Linked DNA regions of Homo sapiens: region 1 is linked to region 2. Evidence: promoter capture Hi-C in human tissues and cell types (Jung and others, 2019). All regions are on one chromosome and are shown on one strand. The core of a region is centred on a gene start or on the middle of the fragment in contact, and the rest is flanking DNA. Distances in the headings are between cores, read along the strand shown.

What was found. Contacts are between HindIII fragments. The study calls those that stand out against the background at their distance.
Region 1: a fragment that was not itself captured here is called in contact with the fragment with the promoter of PEX16 in region 2 in 1 of the 25 tissues and cell types used here (dorsolateral prefrontal cortex).

The regions. Positions count from the first base shown.
Region 1 is chr11:46,320,802-46,326,883 of GRCh38, forward strand. CREB3L1 (cAMP responsive element binding protein 3 like 1) reads left to right here. Exons shown (of 12, transcript NM_052854.4): 12 at 1-608. Among named protein-coding and RNA genes, the nearest start is that of DGKZ, 24 kb to the right of the region's middle. The HindIII fragment of the contact is 5,989 bases long and covers 927-6,082 here.
Region 2 is chr11:45,916,043-45,922,459 of GRCh38, forward strand. It overlaps PEX16 (peroxisomal biogenesis factor 16), which reads right to left and starts at 1,835. Exons shown (of 11, transcript NM_004813.4): 1 at 1,658-1,835; 2 at 1,416-1,451; 3 at 185-261. The coding sequence starts at 1,769. It also overlaps a transcript of LARGE2 not described here. RefSeq lists enhancers at 891-1,643, 1,590-1,659. The HindIII fragment of the contact is 33,493 bases long and covers 1-6,417 here.

The sequences.
Region 1 (6,082 bases), core at 2,671-5,170, 410 kb after region 2:
TTGCTCACTAACCCGGATCCGCCTCGTGCCCCTGCCTCCTGGAGCTTCCCATTCCAGGAGAAAAGGCTCCACTTCCCAGCCCTTCCTTGCCCCTGACATTTGGACTCTTCCCTTGGGCCGACCACTCTGTTCTCATTCTCCTTCCCACCAACATCCATCCGTCCTTCTCAGACAAACCACTCACTGGGTACCCCACCTCCTCTCTCATATGCCCAACACGACCACTGCCTCCCTGCCCCCACACCTGCACCCAAACAGACACATCAACGCACCCCACTCACAGACACCCCTTACCCCACCCCCACTGTACAGAGACCAAGAACAGAAATTGTTTGTAAATAATGAACCTTATTTTTTATTATTGCCAATCCCCTAAGATATTGTATTTTACAAATCTCCCTCTTCCCTTCGCCCCTCCCTTGTTTTATATTTTATGAAGTTAGTGCGGGCTTTGCTGCTCCCTGGCCCAGGAAAGAGGGACTACCTGACCCTCACCTGGCACCCCCCTGCTGCTGCCCAAGCCGCTGGGCCTTTTTAATTGCCAAACTGCTCTCTTCATCAGCTCAGCACATGCTTTAAGAAAGCAAAACCAAAAAAAAAAAAAAAAAGATGCAGCATCAACTCCTGACTTTGTGCCTTTCTTCATTGGAGGGGAGGGAAAGTAGAACCAAAGGGCAGGGGAACAACAAGGGTAGGTTGATTTTATGTTCTGGCAGGGGGTGTGGGGGTATAGGAGTATGAGAAGGCATTTTTTTTTTTTTGTAGAGGTAGGGTCTCGCTATGTTGCCCAGGCTGGTCTCAGACTCCTGGGCTCAGTCTGCCCACCATGGCCTCCCACAGTGCTGGGATTACAGGCGTGAGCCACCATGCCCAGCCTGTTCACTTTTTATTTTCCAATATTTTGTTGACTGATTTGTTATTTCCTCTTCTGTCTTTGGGCTTTATTTATAGCTTTTATATGTGTATGCTTTTATTTGAGGATTAGGAAGATAGTTTAGATAAATGTTTTTTATCTGCCTATTTAAGGAGAACCCCATGTATGTATGTATGTGTACATGAATGAATGACAAGATCTCGCTCTATTGCCCAAGTTGGAGTCCAGTGGTGCAATCATAACTCACTGTGGTTTCAAAATCCTGGGCTTAAGCAATCTTCCACCTCAGCCTCCCAAAGTGCTGGGATTACAGGCGTCAGCCACTGCACCTGGCCAAGAAGGCATTTCTATTGGGCTTTCTCTTCTAGCCAGGTGCAGAATTCAAACCAAACAGCCAAAGAATCTGCTGCAATTCACTCACCTCAGGGCTGCTCCAAGGATCAAGACAGAGTATCAAAGCCACCATCTTGGCCTTTGGGGATGGCCACTGCAAGAATGGAGCCTCCACTGTGGTCCAGGCACTGTGCTAGACACTTCACATACTATACCCAGTTTGGTCCTCCTAAGACCTGCCAGTTTCTTAGTTCTTGTATCCTTTGCCTCAGCTGGATTGAAGGCATAGACTTCTAAGTCAGAAGAGCTGCATTTGAGTATTGGAGCTGCCACTTGCTAGCTGTGTGTGGCAGGTAGAATTCTAATATAGCCTCTAAGATTCCCATCCACTGGTGTACACACCCTGTTGAATCCTTCCCCTAGAACATGGAGGGGACCTGCGAAGATGAGAGACCATCACGCTCATAATTAGATGATCTTTTCTGGAAACAGTTAAGAGATTTTGCAGATGTAATTAAGATCCCAAATCGGATGATTTTGAGTTCATTAAAAAGGGAGATGAGGCCGGGCACGCAGTGGCTCATGCCCGTAATCCCAGAATTTTGGGAGGCCGAAGTGGGCAGATCACTTGAGGTCAGGAGTTCCAGACCAGCCTGGCCAATATGGTGAAACCCCATCTCTTTGTAGAAATACAAAAATTAGGTGGGCATTGTAGTGCACACCTAAAATCCCAGCTACTCGGGAGGCTGAGGTAGGAGAATTGCTTGAACCTGGGAGGTGGAGGTTGCAGTGAGCCGAGATCATGCCACTGCACTCCAACCTGGGTGACAGAGCAAAACTCTGTCTCAAAAAAATAAATAAATAATAAAAGGTAGATGATCCTGGGTGGGCCTGGCTTAATCAGGTGAAAGCCACGAAGGAAGGGACTGGGCCTTCCTAAATAGAGAGAGCACCTCCTGCTGGCCATGGGGCAGAAAGCCATGCTGTGAGGGGAGGGGCGGTTTCTAGGAGCCGAGGATCCCAGTGCCATAGCAGCAAGGACCAAATTCTGCCAACAACCTGAACACGCTCGGAAGATGACCCCAAGCTCCAGATGCAAACATAGCCTAGACAATACCTGGCTGCAGCCTGGTGACACCCAGAGGGAAGGACCCTGTTAAGCCATACCCAGACTGTGAGCCATGGACACAGAGATAGGGAATGTGTGTTGTCTGAAGCTGCCAGGTGGTAGTGATTTGCTAGGCAACATAGGACATAAGTAAGACACTCTGTAACCGGAATCTCTCTGAGCCCCCATTTCTTCATTTGTAAAACAAGGCTGTATTGGGGACTCAAGGAGGTAAGTCATCTAAAGTGCTCAGAACAGGGCCCAGAACTAGTGAGCTCCAAGAAGCACCAGCTGTGCATTAAGAGGCAATGTCGGGACCGGGTGCAGTGGCTCACGCCTGTAATCCCAAGCACCCTGGGAGGCCGAGGTGGGTGGATCATCTGAGGTTATGAGTTCCAGCCTGGCCAACATGGCAAAACCCTGTCTCCACTAAAATATAGAAATTAGCCGGGCGTGGTGTCAGATGCCTGTAATCCCAGCTACTCCTGAGGCAGGGAAAATTGCTTGAACCCAGGAGGTGGAGGTTGCAGTAAGCCAAGATTGCGCCACTGCACTCCAGCCTGGGTGACACAGAAGACTCTGTCTGAAAAAAAAAAAAAAGAAAGAAAGAAAGAAAAGAAAGAAAAGAAAAAAGCCAATATTGATACCATGTGCTACAGAGGGCCTCACAAGCGGGGCTAGGAAGGCACACAGACCTCACCCAGACCTGAGCACCAAGCCTTTCTGGAGGAGGGGACAGGAAAGATTGTTAGACATTGGCAGGAAATGGCCAGACATGGTGGCTCATGCCTGTAATCCCAGCGCTTTGGGAGGCTAAGGCGAGAGGATTGCTTGAGCCCAGGAGTTAAAGGCCAGCCTGGGCAAAACATAGTGAGACCCTGGTCCCTACGCAAATTTTTTTTTTTTTTTGAGATAGAGTCTTGCTCTATTGCCCAGGCTGGAGAGCAGTGGCAGGATCTCAGCTCACTGCAACCCCCCACCGTCTTCTGGGTTCAAGCAATTCTCCTGCCTCAGCCTCCCGAGTAGCTGGGACTACAGGCACACGCCACCACGCCCAGCTAATTTTTGTATTTTTAGTAGAAACGGGGTTTCACCGTGTTGGCCAGGATGATCTCCAACTCTTGACCTTGTGAGCCACCCATTTCCACCTCCCAAAGTGCTGGGATTACAGGCGTGAGCCACCACGCCCGGCCACAATTTTTTTTTTTAATCATGATAATAATGGCCCATGCCTGTTGTCCTAGCTACTCAGGAGGCTGGGGCAGGAGGATCACTTGAACCCAGGAGTTCAAGGCTGCAGTGAGCTATGATCGTGCTACTGCACTTCAGCTTGGGTGACAGAGCAAAACCCCCCCACTCTAAAAATACTAATAAAAGGCAGAAAAGAGGAAAAGGGGCATGCCAGGAAAAAGCAGCAGCCTGGGCAAAAGACTTCAAGGTGAGACAGAACAGGAAACGTTTCAGAAAAGTCAAACAGGCCAGGCGAGGTGGCTTGCACCTGTAATCCCAGCACTTTGGGAGGCCGAGGTGGGAACATCACTTGAGCCCAGGAGTTGGAGACCAGCCTGGGCAACATAGCAAGACCCTGTCCCTATTGAAAGAAAAGAAAAGAAAAGTCAAATAATTTACAATAGCCAGAAGGTAGAGGCCAGAGACGCTAAGAATTAAGCCTGACTGATGAGCCAGGGCCGGATCCAGAGGGGTCACGAATGCCTTGCTAAGGCATTTGGACTTTATCACTCAGGCACGATACTTTCATACACAGAAGCAAGGGCACGGTGGTGGGATGGTGCCTACACTACCACCAGCCACCCACCAGAAGAAAAGTGGGACGAGGCCAGGCAGAATCATGAAAACTCAGAACTGGCCTCCACGCCCCTTCCCCTCAAAGCTTCGGCTTGACCACCTCCAGTGACAGTGACAGAGACCTCACTGCCTGCTGCTGGGCATCAGTTTTAACTGCTGGAAAGCGTAGGCCTTTAGAGCAAGGCCATTAAAGCCTGGGCTCTGGATCCCACGCTGTTATTATTATTATTTTGAGACAGAGTCTCACTCTGGTGCCCAGGCTAGAGTGCAGTGGTGCAATCATGGCTCATTGCAGCCTCCACCTCCCATATTCAGCGATTCTCCTGCCTCAGCCTCCAGAGTAGCTGGGATTACAGGTGTGCACCACCACATCTGGCTAATTTTTGTATTTTTATTAGAGATGGGGTTTCACCATGTTGGCCAGGCTGGTCTCAAACTCCTGGCCTCAAGTGGTCCACCTGCCTCGGCCTCCCAAAGTGCTGGGATTACAGGTGCGAACTACTGCACCTGGACTCAATGTTATTATTATTAATGATAACTTTTTTTTTTTTTGAGACAGGATCTCACTCTGTCGCCCAGGCTGGAATGCTGTGGCATGATTACGGCTCATTCCAACCTCCACTTCCCAGTCTGAAGCCATCCTCCCACCTTAGCTTCCTGAGTAGCTGGGACTGCAGGCATGTACCATCATTACCTCAAAGGCCCCAGGCCGGTGGTGGAAGTTGGGGAATAAACCAGCCATGGGGATGTTGTGATGGAGGGGTGTACAGGATATTAAGGGACACAGAGTATCATGTAATTCAGATGGAGGGGGAGGTGAGGGAAGGCAGCCGGGAGGAGGGTGACCCTTGAACCGAGGCTTCAAGGATGGGAGGAGTTGGTAAGACAGAGAAGGGGTAAGAGCATTTGGAGTGGAGAGAATGGCAAATGCAAAGGCATGGAGCCATGAAAAGCAAGACTAGGGTGGTGCAAGCGGGCTTTGATACACACATGTGATGGCTTCTGCCGCACCAGTCATCCTGCTCGGATTGCCACAACAAACCCTTTGTTATATCTGGAAACCAGGGTGCAGAATACAAGGAGGCACCTGGACAGACCTGAGAAAGGGCACCTCCTGGCCGAGCATAGTGGCTCACACCTGTAATCCCACCACTTTGGGAGGCCAAGGCGGGCGGATCACTTGAGGTCAGGAGTTCGAGACCAGCCTGGCCAACATGGTGAATCCCCATGTCTACTAAAAATACAAAAAAACTAGCCAAGCGTGGTGGCACACACCTGTAATCTCAGCTACTCAGGAGGCTGAGGCAGGAGAATCACTTGAACCCAGGAGGTAGAGGTTGCAGTGAGCTGAGATCGGACCACTGCACTCCAGCCTGGGTGACAGAGAGAGACTCCGTCAAGAAAGAAAAGAAAAGAAAGGGAAAGAAAGGGAAAGGAAGGAAGGGAGGAAGGGAGGGAGGGAGGGAGGGAGGGAGGGAGGGAGGAAGGCAGGCAGGCAGGCAGGCAGGCAGGCAGGCAAGCTCCTTAAACGTCACACCTTAGGTGCCAGCTTGTTTACCCTCATCCTGGCCCTGAGGAAAACCATGGCCCTTCCAGAGATCTAAAGAAAGAACACCTTATCCTGAAGGGGTGGGAGCCACCGCATCCTTTCAAGCCAGAGAGTGAAAGAATCAGACGTCCCTGCCCTGAGTCTCTGCAGAATGGAGAAGATGAGATGATTCCAGACAGAATTAGAAGGAATCATCAACAAGCTCTGACATCAAATTGGCCGTGAGGTCTGGAGGAAGGGTGGGGCCTGAAATGACCCACTTGGAGGTCCTGAGTGGGTGATGAGGCTGTTGACCATGACAGGGATTCAGGAGGAAGAGCAGGTTTGGAGAGAAAGATTAGAACTCATTTTAGCACATCTGGCATTTGAGTTGCCTGTAGAACATTCACATTAACATGTAATTATAGGGCTT
Region 2 (6,417 bases), core at 585-3,084:
AGTCTCTTCATCTAAGATGGGAATACTCACACTTTACAGGTCACCTAATGAGATGGTTTGAGGCTCAGATGGACATAGGCCTGTCTCATACTCCATGAGACATGTGCTGCACGCATGGGCTAGCTGCTACTATTTCATTCCTGAGTCCCCATGCTTCCCACCCTGTTCTTGGCAGAATTCTCACCACAGGCAACTTTTTCCGAAGCTCCTTCCGTAGGATCCCGTCATTGAGCAGCACAAGCAGGTTAGAGGCAGAGTACACTGAGGGGTAGAGAGTGGCCTTGAGAGGCTGGCTCTGCAGCCTCCATCCCTCTCACCTTCTCCCCAGAGCTGCAGGGATCACCTGTCACATGCTCTGCTCAGACACCCACAGACTATGTGGAAACCAACCTTCTTCTCCACCCACTTCCTCAGCACTCCCCTCTCCCCAACATGATCTCACAAGGGTGGCTGGACCAAGAAAGGATGGGTCAATCTCAGTGACAAGCCAGTTACTGCCCTGCTGGATGGCACTGGTCATCCAGCTGCCCACAACTGCCCATCGCTCTCTGAACTGCCACAGATACACGGTCCCACCTCCTGGCCCTTTCTCTCTTGGCAGCCTGTTCCTGAGGGTCTATTCCACCTCCACTTTTCTTTTTTCTGAGTCGGAGTTTCACTCTTGTTGCCCAGGCTGGAGTGCAATGGCACAATCTCGGCTCACTGCAACCTCTGCCTCCCAGGTTCAAGCAATTCTCCTGCCTCAGCCTCTCAAGTAGCTGGGACTACAGGCACCTGCTACCATGCCCAGCTAATTTTTGTATTTTTAGTAGAGATGGGGTTTCACCATGTTGGCCAGGCTGGTCTCGAACTCCTGACCTCACGTGATCCACCTGCCTCTGCCTCCCAAAGTGCTGGGATTACAAGTGTGAGCCACTGCACCTGGCCTCACCTCTGCTTTTCAAAACCCAGTGCATTCTTTCAGGACTGTGACAGCAGTCACTGGGCAAACACTCTTGAGGTAGTTACAATCTGGGAATCCTGGAATCTGGGAGATCTAGACTTGAATCTTGGTTCTGGGACCATCAGTGACTGTTCTCTAACCTCACTGAGCTTCTTCCTTAAATGGACAGTGATGACAATAAGTACCACTTAATATGACTGTAGGGAGGATTAACAAGTAAAGGTAAGAAAGGCACTTAGTCCAGCGCCTGGCCAGTAGTGAATACTCAGATAAGGTCCCCAGACGTGTCTCTTGACTTAGGGACATGGAGGGCCCAGGACAATGAACAACAGACCTTGTGCCGATTCAGTCATAGCACAAGGTGTCTAACGGGCAGCCCAGGTCCTCGGGCTGGGGTGCTCACCCTCTCTGGGGAACTCACCAGGGGCCAGGCAGCCGATCCCCCATCCCCCACCCCCAGAGCCCGGCTCACCCAGCTCTGACAGCTCGTGCGAATCGGCGAATCGACCTGGGGAGAGGGTACAGAAGGAGGTGTGAGTGAGCATCTGCCTCACATTTCGTCTTCGGGTCCCGGAAATCCCCTCCCTACGCCCTTTGGGAACCTGGACGGGTCTTCTCAAGCACAGCGATCACTACCCTGACTCCGCAGGGAAGGGGGCCACTGGGGTCATAGGTCAGGGCCCAGAAGGAACTGATCAAAGGTCAGGGTGGCACCTGCCAGCAGGTAACTGAAGCCCCGCACTGCTGTCTCCAGCTGGGCCGTGGCGGCCGGGTGACGAGTCACGTACTCCTGGTAGCGGAGGCCCAGGAGCCGCAGCTTCTCCATCCTGCCCTCGGCACCGACAGACCCACAGAAGGACCGTACGACAGGCTGCGGCGCCCTGCTTCCTGCGCCCTCCTTCCTGCTTCCGGTCTTAGGCCCGCCTCTTGGTTGCTTAACTTCCGCGGGCCAGAAGGCTGAGGACTTGAAGAACCGGTGAACCACCCTTCACCCCATCTCTTGAACCGCTTCCCACTCGGGTAGCCCTTAGCAACTGAGGGCCCAAACCCGGCCCCCTACTCCCTCAAGTCATTGGTTAGCACGCTCTCCGCCCCTGACCCGCCCAGCGCCGTCAGCACCCAGCTCTTCCGTTTACCGGGTTGGCTGCCCTTGCGCCTGCGCAGTTAAAGCTCCGGTAAAGCCGGGCGGCAGTCAGAGCAGTTCATTCTAGAGAAGGGAGCTGGAGCCCCGAGTCTTTCCAATGGAACGCCGAGAGACTCGAACGGCAGGGCCGGATTTTAAAGGGCTGAGAGATAGCGGGTGCTTGAAAAAAGGAGCCTCGATCAGATTTGGGGAGGTGCGGGGCGTCTAAATACAGTTGCACTGTGTCTCAGCAGGCGCGCGTTCGGCCAGTATCCCCATCTCCGTTTCCTCAACAAAGGTAGTGCTGGGGAAACTGAGGCAGTAAGGAGTCCAGCCCTCTAGTGCCGTCTCGATCCCCTAGACAGCACAGTTAGTGCTCCGGCTTCGGCCTCAGCTCCCGTATGGACTGTGCCCCCCAAAGGGCTCGCGCCTGCATTCCCACATACGCGAAGAAAGCCCTGGCCCGGGCTTCTCTCGGCTCGGTGGCCCTTGGGCGGGAGTATCCCTTCTCTGGGTCTCGGATTTCCCGATCTGTAAAATGGTTTGAGGGCAGACTTGATCCTTGAACTCAGAATCGATCTCAGCTTTCTGGCCCTCGGACGCACCTCGCAGTCCTCAGCTGCGCCCCCAAGGGAAGGGGAGACCCCTGGGGAGTATCTTCCCAAACCAAGCAGCCTCCCTGGAACGGGTGGCACCGGGAGATCTGCGGCGAGTGGTGGAGGGAACGGGCGCTCTGGGGAGGTAGCGCTGATTGGCTGCGGGGAAAGGGGCGTGACATGGGTGGAGCCGTGGGCCAGTGGCCTGAGGGAGCGGGCCAGCGGATTTATGGTACCCTGAGAATAGTAATACATTATTTTACCTAATCCTCTCCACCAGATATCTCCAGATGAAGAAAGCATCCTTTTAAGAACGCCCAGCCAAAATTTGAGTGTTGGTCTTTTCTGACCTCAGAGACTAGGCGGTTTTTTTTAATTCATTTTTTTTAACTTTAATTTTATTTTTAGAGACCAGGTCTAAGCATCACACCTCACCAGGAAACCACAACCTTCCTTCCACTCCCTCACTCCACCCTACTCCACAGCTTAGTTTTCTTCTCTATCAGGTGGGGGATTAAAGCTGCCCTCTTCTCACATCAAAGAACGAAGACCCAGGGAAAGGTGACCAGGGGCCTGAGGAGAGGCAAAGGTCTTGGAGAACAGAGGAGGTGGTCATGGGCATCGTCGACATCATTTCTGGCCACGCTCTGGGTTCCAGGCTTGCTTGCCCTCCTCCCAGCAGCCCCAAGTTGCTATGAACTGTTCACAGATGGGAAATTAGGGCCCAATAAGGAGGGGAAAGGATTTGTCCCACATGGCACAGCAAGGCACTGGCCAAAGAGGCCACAGCGCAGGTCTCCAGTGGCAGTGCCCTCTCTCCTACTGCCCACAGCCCACAAAAGCTGTGACATGTTGAGGCTCCTTGGTCATAAGGCCAGTTAGCAACTGGGATTAGGACCTAGGCTCAGGGCCCTCAAGGTGAGGCTCCTTCTCCCTTCCTCTGCCCCACCTTGTTTTTTGTTTGTTTGTTTGTTTGTTTTTGAGACGGAGTCTCACTGTCGCCCAGGCTGGAGTGCAATGGTGCAATCTCAGCTCACTGCAAACTTTGCCTCCCAGGTTCAAGCAATTCTCCTGCCTCAGCCTCCCGATTAGCTGGGCCTACAGGCGCCCGCCACCACGCCTGACTAATTTTTGTATTTTTAGTAGAGACGAGGTTTCGCCATGTTGGCCAGGCTGGTCTCGAACTTCTGACCTCAGGTGATCCGCTTACCTCAGCCTCCTAAAGTGCTGGGATTATAGGTGTGAGCCACTGAGCCCTGCAGGGCCCTGCTGTGCACCAACACCTTAGTGAACTTGTTCCTCAAACCTCCAGTTTGGCCACTCCTCCAGCCCTCCCTCTGCAGCTGTGGAGAGGGTACAGAGAGAGAATTTGAGGTTCTTCAGCACTCCTTGGGCTGGAGGTCCTGATTCTGAGAGCAAGGTGTGGAGGGGAGAGGGGCAGACTCCCCAGGACAGAATAGGAAGGGGCTTGGGCTGGAACCAGTTTCTTCTCCCTCCCTGCAGAACTGGGAAGGGGAGCATGGGTCTAGCCAGCTTGGCAGCAGCAGGGCTGCCTGAATTTCCTCTCTAGATCCCAGGCCGGATTAGGGCCCAGAGACAAAGAGTTGCGGTGTGTGCAGGAGGCCCCTCCCCTGCTCCCTGGCCCCCTGCCTGGGCTTGGCCGTCTTTGTTGGGCTGGAAGGACCTTTGGGCAGATTGAGCCGTATCCTCTCTCCTTCAGTTTGCCCCAAGTCACAGGGGAAGAGAGGTAGACCAGTCCAACATTTACCTACGAGAGTACCAGAGGCCCAGAGATGGAGCCTCACTCGTCTAATAGGGTCACACAGCAAAGTCCTGGGCAGAGCTGGGTCAAAATGGGTCTTAGGCCAAGAGGAACAGCACCTGTTTATATGCCCATACGTGTCCCTCTTTCTCCCTCCACGCCCCCAGAACAACCCCTTGGGGGCCTAGCAGGTATCTCAGCACTTCAGTTTCCCTGAGTGGTGAGGTTGAGCCAGAAGAAGGGCCAACATTGTGAGTGACTACAGTGAGATCTGCAGACCCAGCTTCCTGCACTGACTCCCCCAGCCCCTTTATTGAAGACTCATCCTGGGCCAGCACCCAACTATGGATCCCATATGGTGTTTGTTTGTTTTTAGAGACAAGGTCTCACTCTGTCACCCAGGCTGGAGTGCAGTGGTGTGATTACAACTCACAGCAGGCTTGACCTCCTGGGTTCAGGTAGTCCTCCTACCTCAGCCTCCCAAGTACTAGGCACATGCCACCACGCCCAGCAATTTTTGTATTTTTTGCAGTCATACAGTTTGGCCGCATTGAGCAGGCTAGTCTCAAATTCCTGGGCTCAAGCAATCCACCTGCCTTGGCCTTCCAAAGTGCTGGGATTACAGGCATAAGCCACTGTTCTGGCCTGGTCTCACATGTTTAACCCCCACAAACCGTCTCTGTTGAGGGTCCTGGAGAGGGAATCACATTTCCCCACCCCAGCTTTAGGCTACAGATGAAGATCAGGGAGGCTGGAGGCTCAAGCTCCAGACGCCTGAGTGGCCAGTGCATGGCCCTTCTCAATTTCTGGGTGCACAAGGAGCCACCATCAGTCTCCATAGCAACCATTATCCCTGCCCTCCAGAGACCCAAAGCCTGACCTTCCCCATCTCCCAGAGAAAGGGGGTCTCAGGTTGGGCTGCTTTCCACAGCTTCTTTTGAGTTTGCCTCACTTTTTGCAGCCAGAAGTTGGGCAAATGACACAGCCTGAGCCCCCTTTCCAGGTCATGGGAGGGGAGATTCTCATTCCAATCCACTTTCAACAGGTATTGAGCACTTGGTATGTGCAGGCCCTGGTTGGGCACTGGGGACTGGACAGACAAGGTTCCAGTCCGGTGAGCAGCTTACATTCTGGGAGGGAGACCTGCAATAAACAAGCAAACAACTTCAACTTTCCATGAGTGCTAGCCAGCCCTGGGAGGCTCCGCTGCCAGAAGGAACGTCAAGGGCAAGTCCTGGGGCGGGAGACCCTTCCGGAGGAGGAGCAAGAAAGCTGCTTCTGCAGCGCAGAGCCTGGGGAACGGAGTGGGGCCGCTTGAGACGGGAGGGGCCGGAGGGTGTTCTTGTCTAACAGGTCACTTAAACTCTCCGGGGGAGAATTAGCCCGCATCATGGGATTAATCGAGGGTGATTAAATCCTTAGCACAGGGCCTGGCACGCTGTGCTGGTTTAGGGTCCAGAGCGCCCCCCACCCATTCCCTGGCCTGCTATGGGGTGCGCGGGGGAGAGGGAGGAAAGACGAGCTCCAGGCCGGTGCGCCCGGGCACAATCACGACGATCTGGACAAGAGTGGGGATCCCCGGCCCTGCCCAGGCAGCCTAGGCCGCCCGCGTCTGGGGCCCCTCGCCAGCTCCCGGGCGGGAGGCGGCCTTCACAAGGGCGCTTTGTCCTGGCGGCGCCGGCAGGGCCCGGCCGGGCCACCTGGACTGAGAGTGGGGGAGTGAGGCGAAGGCTTCAGGTGCTCCGCGGCTCTGGCGCAGGTGTCGGCCGGCTCCGCCCCTGTCCCCAGAGCAGGTGTCCCAGACCCTGCGGCCTGCATTCCGGCCCCCTCCTCCTCCCTCGTGTCGAGCTCCCGCAGTGTCTTTGATCCCGGGCCCGGGGACACTGGCCCCTCCCCTTGGGGAGTGAGGGGAGGAGACGCGGCCCCAGAGCGGGGGCAGGGCAGGGGGTCAGGGCAGGTAGCGGGGCCCGGGCCTTCGCGGGTGGCTGCTCCC